5 separate regions of the Homo sapiens genome follow, and regions 2, 3, 4 and 5 are each linked to region 1. The links are contacts of gene promoters, found by promoter capture Hi-C in human tissues and cell types (Jung and others, 2019). All regions are on one chromosome and are shown on one strand. The core of a region is centred on a gene start or on the middle of the fragment in contact, and the rest is flanking DNA. Distances in the headings are between cores, read along the strand shown. Region 1 holds the start of ZNF721 (zinc finger protein 721). Region 2 overlaps ZNF595 (zinc finger protein 595). Region 3 has its middle 9.2 kb from the start of ZNF718. Region 4 overlaps ZNF718 (zinc finger protein 718). Region 5 has its middle 63 kb from the start of ZNF732.

What was found. The method cuts DNA at HindIII sites, captures the fragments that hold promoters and counts their contacts. A contact is called where the count stands out against the background at its distance.
Region 2: a contact is called between a fragment that was not itself captured here and the fragment with the promoter of ZNF721 in region 1, in 1 of the 25 tissues and cell types used here (mesenchymal stem cells).
Region 3: a fragment that was not itself captured here is called in contact with the fragment with the promoter of ZNF721 in region 1 in 1 of the 25 tissues and cell types used here (dorsolateral prefrontal cortex).
Region 4: a fragment that was not itself captured here is called in contact with the fragment with the promoter of ZNF721 in region 1 in 1 of the 25 tissues and cell types used here (spleen).
Region 5: a contact is called between a fragment that was not itself captured here and the fragment with the promoter of ZNF721 in region 1, in 1 of the 25 tissues and cell types used here (lymphoblastoid cells).

What each region holds. Positions count from the first base shown.
Region 1 is chr4:497,881-500,432 of GRCh38, reverse strand. It overlaps ZNF721 (zinc finger protein 721), which reads left to right and starts at 1,277. Exons shown (of 3, transcript NM_133474.4): 1 at 1,277-1,377. PIGG (phosphatidylinositol glycan anchor biosynthesis class G (EMM blood group)) reads right to left here and starts at 1,223. Exons shown (of 13, transcript NM_001127178.3): 1 at 944-1,223; 2 at 1-37. The coding sequence starts at 1,097. RefSeq lists enhancers at 262-1,125, 1,083-1,562, 1,126-1,991. The HindIII fragment of the contact is 23,753 bases long and covers 1-2,552 here.
Region 2 is chr4:87,085-89,636 of GRCh38, reverse strand. It overlaps ZNF595 (zinc finger protein 595), which reads right to left. Exons shown (of 4, transcript NM_182524.4): 4 at 1,429-2,552. The coding sequence ends at 2,186. Among named protein-coding and RNA genes, the nearest start is that of ZNF595, 35 kb to the right of the region's middle. The HindIII fragment of the contact is 4,411 bases long and covers 1-2,552 here.
Region 3 is chr4:113,983-116,534 of GRCh38, reverse strand. No RefSeq gene overlaps it. Among named protein-coding and RNA genes, the nearest start is that of ZNF718, 9.2 kb to the left of the region's middle. The HindIII fragment of the contact is 4,823 bases long and covers 1-2,552 here.
Region 4 is chr4:137,655-140,206 of GRCh38, reverse strand. All of the region lies in intron 3 of ZNF718 (zinc finger protein 718), which reads right to left. Among named protein-coding and RNA genes, the nearest start is that of ZNF718, 14 kb to the right of the region's middle. The HindIII fragment of the contact is 4,199 bases long and covers 1-2,552 here.
Region 5 is chr4:241,648-244,199 of GRCh38, reverse strand. It overlaps the pseudogene ZNF876P. Among named protein-coding and RNA genes, the nearest start is that of ZNF732, 63 kb to the left of the region's middle. The HindIII fragment of the contact is 5,231 bases long and covers 1-2,552 here.

The DNA of each region.
Region 1 (2,552 bases), core at 28-2,527:
AGAGGTGGTGGCAGCGTGGTCCAGTTAGAACTGGCTCCTAAGTGTTTGAAAGAAAAAAAAGGAAATTGAACTCTAAACTTTCCTTAGCATCAAGCACCTTCACAATCTAGCTTCTACCTACTTCTCCAGCACATACCCTGCGATATCTACATAACCCAACCCAAAAGGAGGCGACTTGTACTTGGTAGGTAGTGCTGGGGGGAAAGGACGGGGGTTAACAGGAGTAATCTTAGGGACCCACAGTAGCAAGCAGTGAATTATCCTCAGTATGGTGAAGAGTACTGGGGTAGGAGAATCCCTACGTAAGGGTCCTGGAATGGGACATTTAGGGAGCTTGACCTAAAACGCAGAGCTGCAGCTACGGGATGGCTGGGCGTTTACATACTGCGTTTACATGGTCAGCGGCTGGCGATGTGTGCAAGTGGTCCAGAACCAGGGCGCCTTTACTTGCTGTATATGGCTGGGTAGGTGAAGCCTAGGAAGAGGCCTAACGCAGAGAGGCCTTAGCCCCTAGGCAGGGAAAACATCTTGGAGGAATATAAGAGACCAAAACGCGAGGGGATCGGCAGGGGTCTTATCTGTTGTGTGCTAGGGGGCAAAAAGGGCGCCTATAACGGGGAGTGACCCAAAGGCTGCTCAGGAAAGGGGCGGGAGCTCTGGACGAGTAGAAGTGGAGAGGCTGGATCCCAGGTATGGACACAGCTTACTTTGTGGTGATCAGGAAGGAAGGTCGAAGTGGGGCCAGTAGAGGTGGTTGCCACAAAGTTGTAAGAATACAGAAAAGAGACGCTGGAGCGGTTAAAAAAAATTTCTGAGGTGGGGACCATAATGGAAGAGACCACCGGGGAGCGCCGAGAAGAAATCCGAGCAGCGAGGCTCAGAAAAAAGGTCTTCTAGGGGATGTGGGGTCAGGGGAGCGGAGACGCCGGGGAGGGGTCCGTACCAGCCGAGGGTTCGGGCGCTGGGGGCTCCGCTCCGTGTTCCGCTCTGGCAGAGGAACGAACGGGAGCCGGGAAGAATCCCCGAAGGAAGACCGCGATCCCTAGCACCTCGATCGCTACGCAACAGGTAGCGAAAGTCCCGGAGCCCAGCCGCATCGTGGACACGCTAGGCTGGATGCGGAACCGACCCCACCTGGAGCCTCGCCCTGCTGCAGCCGCGCTTCCGGCTCCAGGTAGCCGCCTCTAAGCAATAACGCCAGGCCTTATCGTCGCAGCGACAGTGGCGTCACGTCCGCCGGCGCGCCACAGCAGCGCGTCACTTCCGCCAGCCCGCCACAGCGGGGCGTCACCTCGGACATACGAACAGCGGGCGGTGTTCCCGGCTCCGTGGGGCCGTCTTCCCGGCGAGTCCGCGACGGTCGCCGCCCACGGCGAGGTACGAGGTTTTAAAAAGTTTTTAATTTGGAAGGCAGGGTGCAGTGGCTCACGCCTTTAATCCCAGTACTTTGGGAGGCCGAGGCGGGCGGATCACGAGGTCAGGAGATCGAGACTATCCTGGCCAACATGGTGAAACCCCGTCTCAACTAAAAATACAAAAAATTAGCGGGGCGTGATGGCGGGTGCCTGTCGTCCCAGCTACTCGGGAGGCCGAGGCAGGAGAATCGCTTGAACCTGGGAGGCGGAGGTTGCAGTGAGCCGAGATCGCGCCACTGCACTTCTGCCTGGCAACAGAGCGAGACTGCGTCTCAAAAAAAAAAAAAAAAAGAAAATTCAACCCAATACCTCAGACAACTGGTAAATATCTTAATGATTAACTTCGTTTTAAAGATGCCACATGAGTGAGATCATGAGGTATTTGTCTTTCTGTGTCTTATTTTGCTTACATGATATCCTCAGGTTTATCCGTGTTGTGGCAAATGATAGGGTTTCATTCTTTTATTAGAGCTGAATAGTACTCCATTGTGTATATATACCACATTTTCTTTTTTCTGAAAGGAAAATCTTGGGGCCCCAAAATTACTAAACTAAGGGAAAAGACAAGCTCGGAACTGCTCAGGACAAACCTGCCTCCCATTCTATTCAAAGTCATTCCTCTGCTCACTGAGATAAATGCATATTGATAGCCTCCTTTGGAGAGGCTTATCAGAAACCCAGAAACTGCAACCATTTGTCTGTCACCTACCTGTGACCTGGAAGCCCCCTCCCTGTTCCAAGTTGCCCCCGCCTTTCTGGACAGAACCAATGTCCTTCTTTTTTTTTTTTTTTTTTTTTTTTTCTTTTTCTTTTCAGATGAAATCTCACTCTGTCGCCCAGGCTGGAATGCAGTGGCGTGATCTCAGATCACTGCAACCTCTGCCTCCCGGGTTCAAGCAATTCTCCTGCCTCAGCCTCCTGAGTAGCTGGGATTACAGGTGCGTGCCACCACGCACGGCTAATTTTTGTATTTTTAGTTGAGACGGGGTTTCACCATGTTGGTCAGGCTGTTCTTGAACTCCTGACCTCGTGATCCGCCCGCCTCGGCCTCCCAGAGTGCTGGGATTTACAGGCATGAGCCACCGCGCCCGGCCTGTTTTTTTTTTGTTGGTTTGTTTTTGAGACGGAGTCTCGCTC
Region 2 (2,552 bases), core at 15-2,514, 410 kb after region 1:
TAGTGACAAAGAGTATATAATCCCATTTAAATGAGCTATCTTAAGTGAAATGATTTTTAGAAGACAGTCAGAATTATAAAGTACTCCTCCACAGATGGAATAAAAACGTGTGAATGCCGGGAGCAGTCATCTGCCACCTGGAGAACAGAACTTCCAGGCACCAGGGGAATGCAAGCACAGATGACAACAGTGATGGTAGCAAGGGCACTGATTAGAGTAGTGGTGGCCTGAGGAGTACTTTTTGGCATGCACCAGTGTGCCAGAGGCTGGGGCCCACACTGGGGATTGGAGTTGCCCTCCATAACTCCAGAACCAGGTCCTGGTGTTTCACTTCATGTTCCACCAATGCCCCTGCAGACAGTAAAGTACTTATCTCAATTAAGTGATCTAAACATTGCATTGATAAGCTATAAATAACCTCAAACACTCCAGTTAAAAACAATTTACCACACTGAAAAATTTCAAACTTCTAATCAGAACATAGAAAGTCTGTATGAAATTACATGGCAAAAAGAGAACAGTGAGAAGACTGTAGCCATAACACAAAGAAGAAGGGGTGTGAGGCATACATAGCTGGGAATAAACCATAAAGATATTCCAAAACTAAAGATAATTAGAAAATAAAATCAGAGGTTCTCTTTAAATTCAGAATGAGTCAGTTTTGCAGCCTGGTAACAGATGTTCTCTCCACATGCAGACTGCCATTTCTTCACTATAGACATTTTCATTCTCTTACTTGGAGCTACAAACTCACTCCAGAAAGAATAATATTTATGGCTAATTATGGAGCATCTATTACCCAGTACTTTCTTATGCTTACTATAATTATATATCAAAACATCCCATGAATTATTAAGTTTCACCAGTACTTACCTGAAAAAATTGGCACAATAAACTCATTTATGTCAATTATAAAAAGTGAAACAAATAACTAAACGGCTCATATAGGGTTATCCAACTAAAGCAATAAAATGAAATGTCCTAACTAAAATATAACTTAATACACGAATTATGAACTTGCATCTAAATATTTTGTGTTTGCTACTAAATTTTATAAAATTATAATTTCTGACCAGCTCACATAATAAATACTTCATAAAGTAAAAATAAAAAAAATAAGAAAGAAGTCAATTATAGCTCTAGCATGAGTAACAGACAAATAAAAACAGAATTTGCATGGGAGAGTCTCAACAATGATCCGTTAAATTTTACAGTAATAGAAGAAAATATAAATTTGATTTCAGAATGTTTTAGGTTTCTAGATTTCTAGTAAAATATCCACCTTATTAAAATAATCTTTGTTCCAATATTGCTATTTTCCTTGGAAAATAGATACAAACTCTCACAGAAACTCAACTGCTTGCCCCATAATTTTCTTACACCTAAATTTTATCTTTAGAGCAATACATTTACATATTTAACTCCATGTAAATCAAAACCAAAGTCTGCATTTATTTGCGGAAAGAGATGCTACATGTTCAAAGATAAATATGGAACATTTTTTAAAAGCATTCATGACTTAGAAATGTGTGAATTATAATTATACTCATATACTTATTATAATCATAAAATAACCTGTAGTAAAAAAATAATTGCACATTTAAAAATAATTAAAGTGGCCAGGTACGATGGCTCACACCCGTAATCCCAGCACTTTGGGAGGCCGAGGTGGGTGGATCATGAGCTCAGGAGTTCGAGAACAGCCTGGCCAGCATTGTGAAACCCTGTCTCTACTGAAAATACAAAAAATTAGCTGGGCATGGTGGCACCTGCCGGTAGTCACAGCTACTCATGAGGCTGAGGCAGGAGAATTGCTTGAACCCAGCAGGTGGAGGTTGCAGTGAGCCAAGATCGCACCACTGCGCTCCAGCCTGGGCGACAGAACGAGACTCTGTCTCAAAAAAAAAAAAAAAAAAAAAAATTAAAGTGTATAACTGGACTGTGTGTAATACAAAGAACAAATGCTTGTGAAGAATAACTCATTTACTCTGATGTGATAATTACATGTCATATGCCTGTATCAAAATAATCCAAATAAGCCATGAATAGATACACATACTATGTACCTACAGAAATTTTAAAAAATTTAAAATAAGAAAAATAATACAAGTTTATATGGGAGCAATATTCTCCAATTTATTTGCTGTGTAAAGACACTGGAATTAGAGATTACTAGAAATGTCATTCAACTATGTTCCTTGCCAGTATGAATTCGCTTGTGTACAGTAAGGGTTGAGGGCCGATTAAAAGCTTTGCCACATTCTTCACATTTGTAGGATTTCTCTCCAGTATGAATTATCTTATGTTTAGTAAGGGATGAGGACCAATTGAAGGCTTTGCCACATTCTTCACATGTGAAGGGTTTCTCTCCAGTATGAATTCTCTTATGTTTAGTAAGGGTTGAGGATAAGTTATAGGCTTTGCCACATTCTTTGCATTTGTAGGGTTTCTCTCCAGAATGAATTTTCTTATGTTCATTCAGGGCTGTGGACCGAGTAAAGGCTTTGCCACATTCTTCACATTTGTAAAGTTTTTGTTCAGAATGAATGCTC
Region 3 (2,552 bases), core at 16-2,515, 380 kb after region 1:
TATGATAGCAGTCCCCAAAGGAGAGGAGAAAGAGGAGGGGATCAAAAATATATTTGAAGAAGCAGCCAAAAAATTAGCAAATTTGGTAAATTATGAAAAGTTCAAAGTGCAAGAATTGCAAAGAAAATTATGACACATCACAATAAAATTGCCCCAAACCCATGATAAAAAGTCAACATGCTCTAAATAATCCATGGGTCAAAGCAGACATCAAAAGGAAAATCAGAAAGTATTTTGAACTGAATGAAAATAAAAACACTAAAGTTTGTGAGCTGCCTCTGAAAATGAGCTTGGGGTAAATTTATATCATTAGTAATCATATTAGGGGAAAAAAAGGTCTAAATCAATGACCTAAGCTTTAAACTTAAAAATTTAGAAAAAGTAAAATTAAACCCAAAGAGAAAAGAGAAAATAACAAAGACCAAAACAGAAATCAATGAAATAGAAAACAACACACACACACACACACACACACAGAGAGAAAGGTCAATAGAATCAAAGCTAGTTTTCTAAAAAAAATTAATAAAATTGATTATCCTATATCTAGACTAGTCAGTCAGGGGAGAAAAGAGAACAGGCACAAAATAACAATATCAAGACTAAAAGATGTGACATAGCTACAGATGTTCACAGATGTAAAAAGGATAAGGAAATAGTCTGAACAGCTTTATGTCACTAAATTTTAGAACTTAAAATACATTTGAGACACAAACTACAAAAACTGATCCAAGAAAAAAAAATCTAAATGGCATGTATTTATTTTAAAAATTAAATTTCTAAAAAAAAATTAAATTTCTAGTTAAAAACTTGCTCACAAAAACATCTCCAGGTCCAGATCACTTCACTTTGTGGTCTCTAGATGAAAACTTTTAAAAGAAAACTTTTATGACAATGAATTAAGCAAAGATTTCTTCCATAAGACATGAAAAACACAATGCGTGCAATAAGAAATTAACAAATTAGATTTTATCAAAAAATTTAAAAACTTTTAATTTTTAAAATATAAGCCATAGACTGGGAGGAAGTAGTTGCAAATCATATATTTGATAAGAGACATGTTTCCAGAGTGTATACGGAAAAAACTGATTTTTAAAACTGACCAAAGATTTGAATAGGCCTCACCAAGGTGTTACAGGAAAGGGGTCCTGATCTGGACCCCAAAAGAGGGTTCTTGGTTGTCCAGCAAGAATATGGGGCGAGTCCATAGAGTAAAGTGAGAGCAAGTTTATTAGAAAAGTAAAGGAATGAAAACTGGCTGTACCACAGGCAGAGATGGGACATGAGCTGGTTCTACTGACTATACTTATTTCTTGATTGTATGCTCAACAGAAGGTGGATTATTCGTGAGTTTTCCTGAATGAGGAAGGTTCCTCCCCCTTTTAGATTATATAGAGTAACTTTCTGACGTTGCCTTGGCATTTGCAAACTGTCTTGGTGCTGGTGGGAGTGCCTCTTAGCATGCTAATGTATTATAATTAGCATATAATGAGCAGTGAGGATGACCGGAGGTCACTTTCATCACCGTCTTGGTTTTGGTGGGTTTTGGCTGGCTTCTTTACTGCATGCTGTCTTATCAGAAAGGTCTTCATGACCTGTATCTTGTGCTGACCTTCTGTCTGATCCTGTGAGTAAGAATGCCTCACCTCCTGGAAATGCAGCTCAGTAGGTTTCAGCCTCTATTTACCCAGCCCCTTTTCGAGATGGAGTTGCTCTTGTTCAAATGTCTTTGACAAAAGAAGATATACAAATGGCAAATATGCACATAAAAAGATGCCCAACATAAACAGTAGTCTGTATTTGGAAGCAACAGAAATAAGGAAAATGCAAACTAAAACCAAAATGAGAAATTACTCTCCACATATTAAAATGGCTAAAATGAAAATGGCTAACCATACCAAGTTTATATTATCATGTGGAACAACTGGAACACTCACACTGTTGGTGGGAATGTAAAATGGTAAAACTACTTTGAGAAAAAAATTGGGAGTTTCCTAAACAGGTAAATGTTCACCTATCATATAATCTAGCCATTCCACTACCAAATATTTGCCCAAGAGAAAGAGAGAAAGGAAAGCATATGTTCACACAAAGACTGCTTACAAATGTTTCATTTTCTTTGTAATAACCCCAAACTGGAACCAGTGAAAATGTCCATCATCAGGTGAATAAATAAGCAAACTGTGACATATCCACACAATTGAATATGACTCAGCAGTGAAACAGAATGTGCTATTGACACATACTTCAACAGGGATGAATCTCAAAATAATTATGCTGAGTGAAAGAAGCCACAGAGAGAGACAGAGTTATGATTCCATTTCTATAAAACTCTGGAAACAAACTGACTGATACTGACAGAAAAAAGATCATTGCTTGCCTAACAATGTGAAGGGAAGAGGCAGGGAGGGGTCGAGCAAGAGATTACCGAGGAACATAGGAAATTTGGAGGTGTGATGGGCATATTCATTGTTATGATTGTGGTAATGGCTTTATGGGTGCACATGTATTTTGGAACTTATTAAACTGCACACTTTATTTTTTTGACACAGGGT
Region 4 (2,552 bases), core at 33-2,532, 360 kb after region 1:
TAAAAATAGCCATGAACTGCAATGAGAACTGGATGCCGGGTGGGCCTTTTTGTTCCGTAGCCAGTTGAGTACGGTAAGGGAAGAATTTAGCATAAGAAGGTTTAAGTCCCTTAAAACATGTGCGAGTTTGCTCTGAACTGCGCCACACATAGGGATCGGGGACCACGTGCAGAAAAGATAAAAAAAAAAGTCATTCCCCCTTCTGGGCAGGGCAATTATAAACAGCGACTTAAAGACTGAGAAATAAAGGAAAAAAAAATGAAAAAGACCCAGGTTCCTTAAGCAAACCAGGAGGTGGCAGTCAGCCTTCTCTGCACGGAAACCCATTAGTTTCACAGGCCACAGCCAGAAACCTGCAGTTGCCTCCACGTTTAGGTGCTGCCCACCAAGTGTTCCAAGTTGGAAATGAAAAGAGAAAGCTCTTGTATGGAGCAGAAAGGAAAGAGAGAAAAATGAATCCCAAACTTTGGGCTTACTTCTTCCTCCTGGCTGGCCAAAATATACGTTACCAGTTGTAGGTGTCCAGGTCCTTGACGTCTTTAACAAAGAATTGGACAAAACGCACAAAGCAAGGAAGGCATGAAGTGATTTATTGAAAATGAAAATACACTCCACAGTGTGGGAAAAAGCCCAAGCGTAGGGGCTCAAAGGCCCCATTACAGAATTTTTGGGAGTTTAAATACCCCCTAGTATGCCCTATGTAAATGGAGAGGATGAAATAAAGTTACAAAGTTATTTATGGCCCATGCCCTATGGAAAGGTGAAGTGTGAAGTGGTCTTATGTTTTCTGCCTCCAGACTCTATTTTCCTGCCTCAATATAATGGGGGAGTCTCTTCAACAAATTGTGTTACAAAAACTGAATATCCATATTCAGAGGAATAAAACTAGACCTCTATCTCTTGCCATCTAAAAAAAATTAAATCAAAACGGATTAGAGACAAATCTAAGACATCAAACTATGAAACTACTACAAAAAACATTGGTGAAACTCTCCAGGAAATTAAACTGAACAAAGATGTCTTGAGTAATACCCCACAAGCACAGGCAGCCAACGCAAAAATGAACAAATGGAATCACATCAGTTAACGAGCTTCTAAACAGGAAGTGAAACAATCAACAAAGTGAAGAGACAACACATAAAATGGGAGAAAATATCTGGAAACTGCCTATAAGGAATTAATAACAAGAATACATAAGGCACACAAACAGCTCTATAGGATAAAATCTGATGATAAATAAGCAAAAAATTTGAATAGAAATTTCTCAAAAGAGAGCCTACAAATAACAAAAAGCCATATGACAGGGTGCTCAACATTATTTATCATCAGAGAAATGCAAATCAAAATGACAATGAGATATTATCTCACCCCAGTTACAATGGCTTTTATCCAAAAGTCAGGTGATTAATAAATGCTGGTGAGGATGTGGAGAAAAGTGAAAGTTGAACTCTAGTACTCTCTTGGTGGGAATGTAAATTACTACAATGACCATGGAGACCAGTTTAGAGGTTCCTCAAAAAATGAAAAATAAAGCTACAATATTATCCAGCAATCCCATTGCTAGGTATGTACATAAAAGAAAGGAAATCAGGACATCAGAGAGATATTTGAAGCTCCATTTTCACTGCAGCAGTGTTCACATTAGCCAAAATTTAGAAGCAACCTAAGTGTCCCTTACATGAATGGACAAAGTAAATGTGGTGCACATACATAACAGAGTACTTTTCAATCATAAAAAAGAACAAGATCCCATCATCTTCAACAACATGGATGGAACTAGAGGTCATTATGTTAAGAAAAATAAGCCAAGCACATGAAGGCAAACGTTGCATGTTCTCACACATTTGCTGGAGCTAAAATTAAACTAATTCATAGAGACAGAGAGCAGAAGGATTGTTACCAGAGGCTGGAAAGTGTAGCAGGGGACTGGGGGAAGTGGGGAAGATTAATGGGTAGAAAAATAATTAGAAAGAGTAAGATGTAGCAGTTGCTAGTACACAGAGTGACTATAGTCAAAAGCAATTTAATTGTACATTTTTAAATAACTAAAAGAATGTAGTTAGGTTGTCTGTAAAACAAAGAATAAACACTTGAGGTAATGAATACCCATTTACCCTGATATGATTTTTATGCATTTCATGCCTACATCAAAATATCTCATGTAACCCATAGATACAAAAAGCTACTGTGTACTCATAAAAATTTAAAATCCTGAACCATATACAAAAACTATCTTGAATAAATTAAATATTTAAATGTAAGAAGCATAACTCTACAATTTTTGGAAGAAAATACAGGAAGAAAGATTATGACATTGGTCTTGGCAATGTTTTCTTGCATATAGCATCAACTACATGAGTAACAAATTTAAAAACACAGAAAAATGGACTACATTAAATTTATCTCTGAACATTAAAATAAACATTTAGTCAGTCCCGAGTAAGAAAAAAAAAAGTAAAAAGTATACATTTGACAGAAGTTAACACCCAGAATAAACTCCAAAAAGTCAACAAAGAGTAAGTAATATGATTAACAAATGAACAGGAGGTGAA
Region 5 (2,552 bases), core at 32-2,531, 260 kb after region 1:
ATGTAAAATCATGGCACTTTGATACACTTCTGAGGCGGTGCCCACACCGACAAATCCTGTAACAGGCTTTTGTTTAGGCCAATTTTTTGGCCATCTATTTAAGGCAATGATAGAGACATCAGCCCCGGTATCCACTAATCTTTCAAACTGCTTTTCCTGAATAGTGACTGTACACACGGGTCTATCCTCTGAGACCCGATTATCCCAATAAGCAGCTTTTCCGGCAGGGTTGGTACTTCCAAACCCTCCTGTTCTGTTTTCTTTTCCCCAATTTGAATATAAGGCAAAAGCAGTATTTGAGCAATTCTATCATCACCTGGATTGTCGCTCCAGGGAACAGTGGAGCTGATCACTAACTGAATTTCCCCTTTATAATTTGAATCAATTACCCCAGTATGAATTTGGACTCCCTTCAAATTTAGACTTGATCTCCCTAAAATAAGGCCTACTGTCCCTTCTGGCAGTGGGCCATATGCCCCTGTAGGAGGAATCTTTTGTTGGGGCTCTCCAGGGAGTAAAGAGACCATTTGAGCGGCACATAAATCTGCTGTGCTGCCTGCTGTGGCAGGGGACAGCTGTTGTATTGTTGTAATCGGTTGACTCCCTGAAGTGGTGGTATTTGCTGTGGGGGTTGTCCCTGAAAACCCTGAGGAACAAACAGCTGAATAAGGAATGCACCAGTTTGTGGCGGGGCCTGAGACTGGCCCCTCTTCCCATTTCCCGACAATGGTTGCCGATTTTTATCAAATTTAGAATGACATTGATTAGCCCAATGTTTTTCTTTTCCACGTCTTGGACACAGGCCAGGTGGCTCTTTATTTTTTGCTGTAATAGCTTATTATATTCTGTTTATTTAGGACTGGGCAGTTCTTTTTTAGATGACCAATTTGAACACAATTATAATATTTTCCCCCAAATGTTCTAACTTGTCCTCCTAAAGTGACCCCCGTCATTGCTCGAGCCATTAGCATAGCCTTATGCATAGCTCCTCCAATCCCATCACAAGCCTTCACATATTCTATAATTACATCAATTCCTGCTGGAACTTTTCCTTTTAATGGCTTTATGGCCAACTGACATTCTGGATTTGCATTCGATAGGCCATTAATTCTACAATAACTTTTTGGGTGTTATCATCTGTAATAGATTTTTGAGCAGCATCTTGCAATCTTGCCACAAAGTCAGGATATGGCTCTTTAGAGCCTTGTCTAATTGAATTAAAAGAAGGGCAGGCTGTTCCTGGGTCCTGAATTTTTTCCCAGGCCCTGAGGCAAATAGCCCTTACTTGTTCAATAGCCTCATTCTGCATTACTGATTTTTGGTTAATGGTGCTCCACTTTGGACCTGTTCCTAACAATTGGTCTACATCTATATTAACAGTGGGATTTGTAGCCTGATTTTTTCGTACCTGTTCTTGTACTCCATTCCATCAATCCACCAGGTTTTAAACTGTAAATGAGAGGGTGAAAGGGAAGATTTAGCCAAAATTTCCCAATCATAAGGAATAAGTCTATTTCCATGAACAATGGAATCTAATAATGTTCTCATGTAAGGGGAGTTGGGTCCATATTGTTTATAACTCCTTTCTTCATATCTTTTAACATTTTCAAGGTGAAAGATTCATATCTAGCCTCAGCTTGGGTAGGCACTCCTACTTGTCTCTTCCCCGGCTGGTACCGGTTGTAAAATTACTGGGAACTGCCATGCCTCAAGATCTCCCTGTTTTCTGGCTTAATCAATGATTTCATACAGTGTGCTACATTGTCCACTAGGTGGTGCTGTAGGATTAAGCGCCACCGCCGTGGGTTGCTGAAGCTGAGATAAGAGGCATATTTACTTTCAGTTTGTCCCATCGTTACCCTGGGTTCCTTTGAGCGCACAAGCTTACCGCAAGGCTGACCGTGGATGTACTCAGGAATCTCTCGTCGACTTGTCCTCACTGCTCATGTTCTTAGCGTACCTTCACCCTAGAGAAAGGCACCCACGTTGGGTGGCAGATGAAGGCGTGGCCTGCCCCTCCACACCTGTGGGTATTTCTCATCAGGTGGTATGAGAGACTGAGAAAAGAAATAAGACACAGACACAAAGTATAGAGAAAGAACAGTGGGCCCAGGAGACCGGTGCTCAACATACGGAGGACCTGCACCGGCACCAGTCTCTGAGTTTCCTCAGTGTTTGTTTATTAATTACTATTTTCACTATCTCAGCAAGGGGAATGTGGCAGGAAAACAGGGTGACAGTGGGGAGAAGGTCAGCAAGAAAACATGTGAGCAAAGGGATCTGTGTCACAAATAAGTTCAAGGGAAGGTACTATGCCTGGATGTGCACGTAGGCCAGATTTATGTTTCTCTCCACCCAAACATCTCAGTGTAGCAAAGAGTAACAGAGCAGCATTGCCACCAGCATATCTTGCCTCCAGCCACAGGGCGGTTTTCTCCTATCTCAGAATAGAATAAATGTATGATCGGGTTTTACACTGAGACATTGCGTTCCCAGGGGCATGCAGGAGACAGAGGCCTTCCTCTTATCTCAACTGCAAGAGGCCTTCCTCT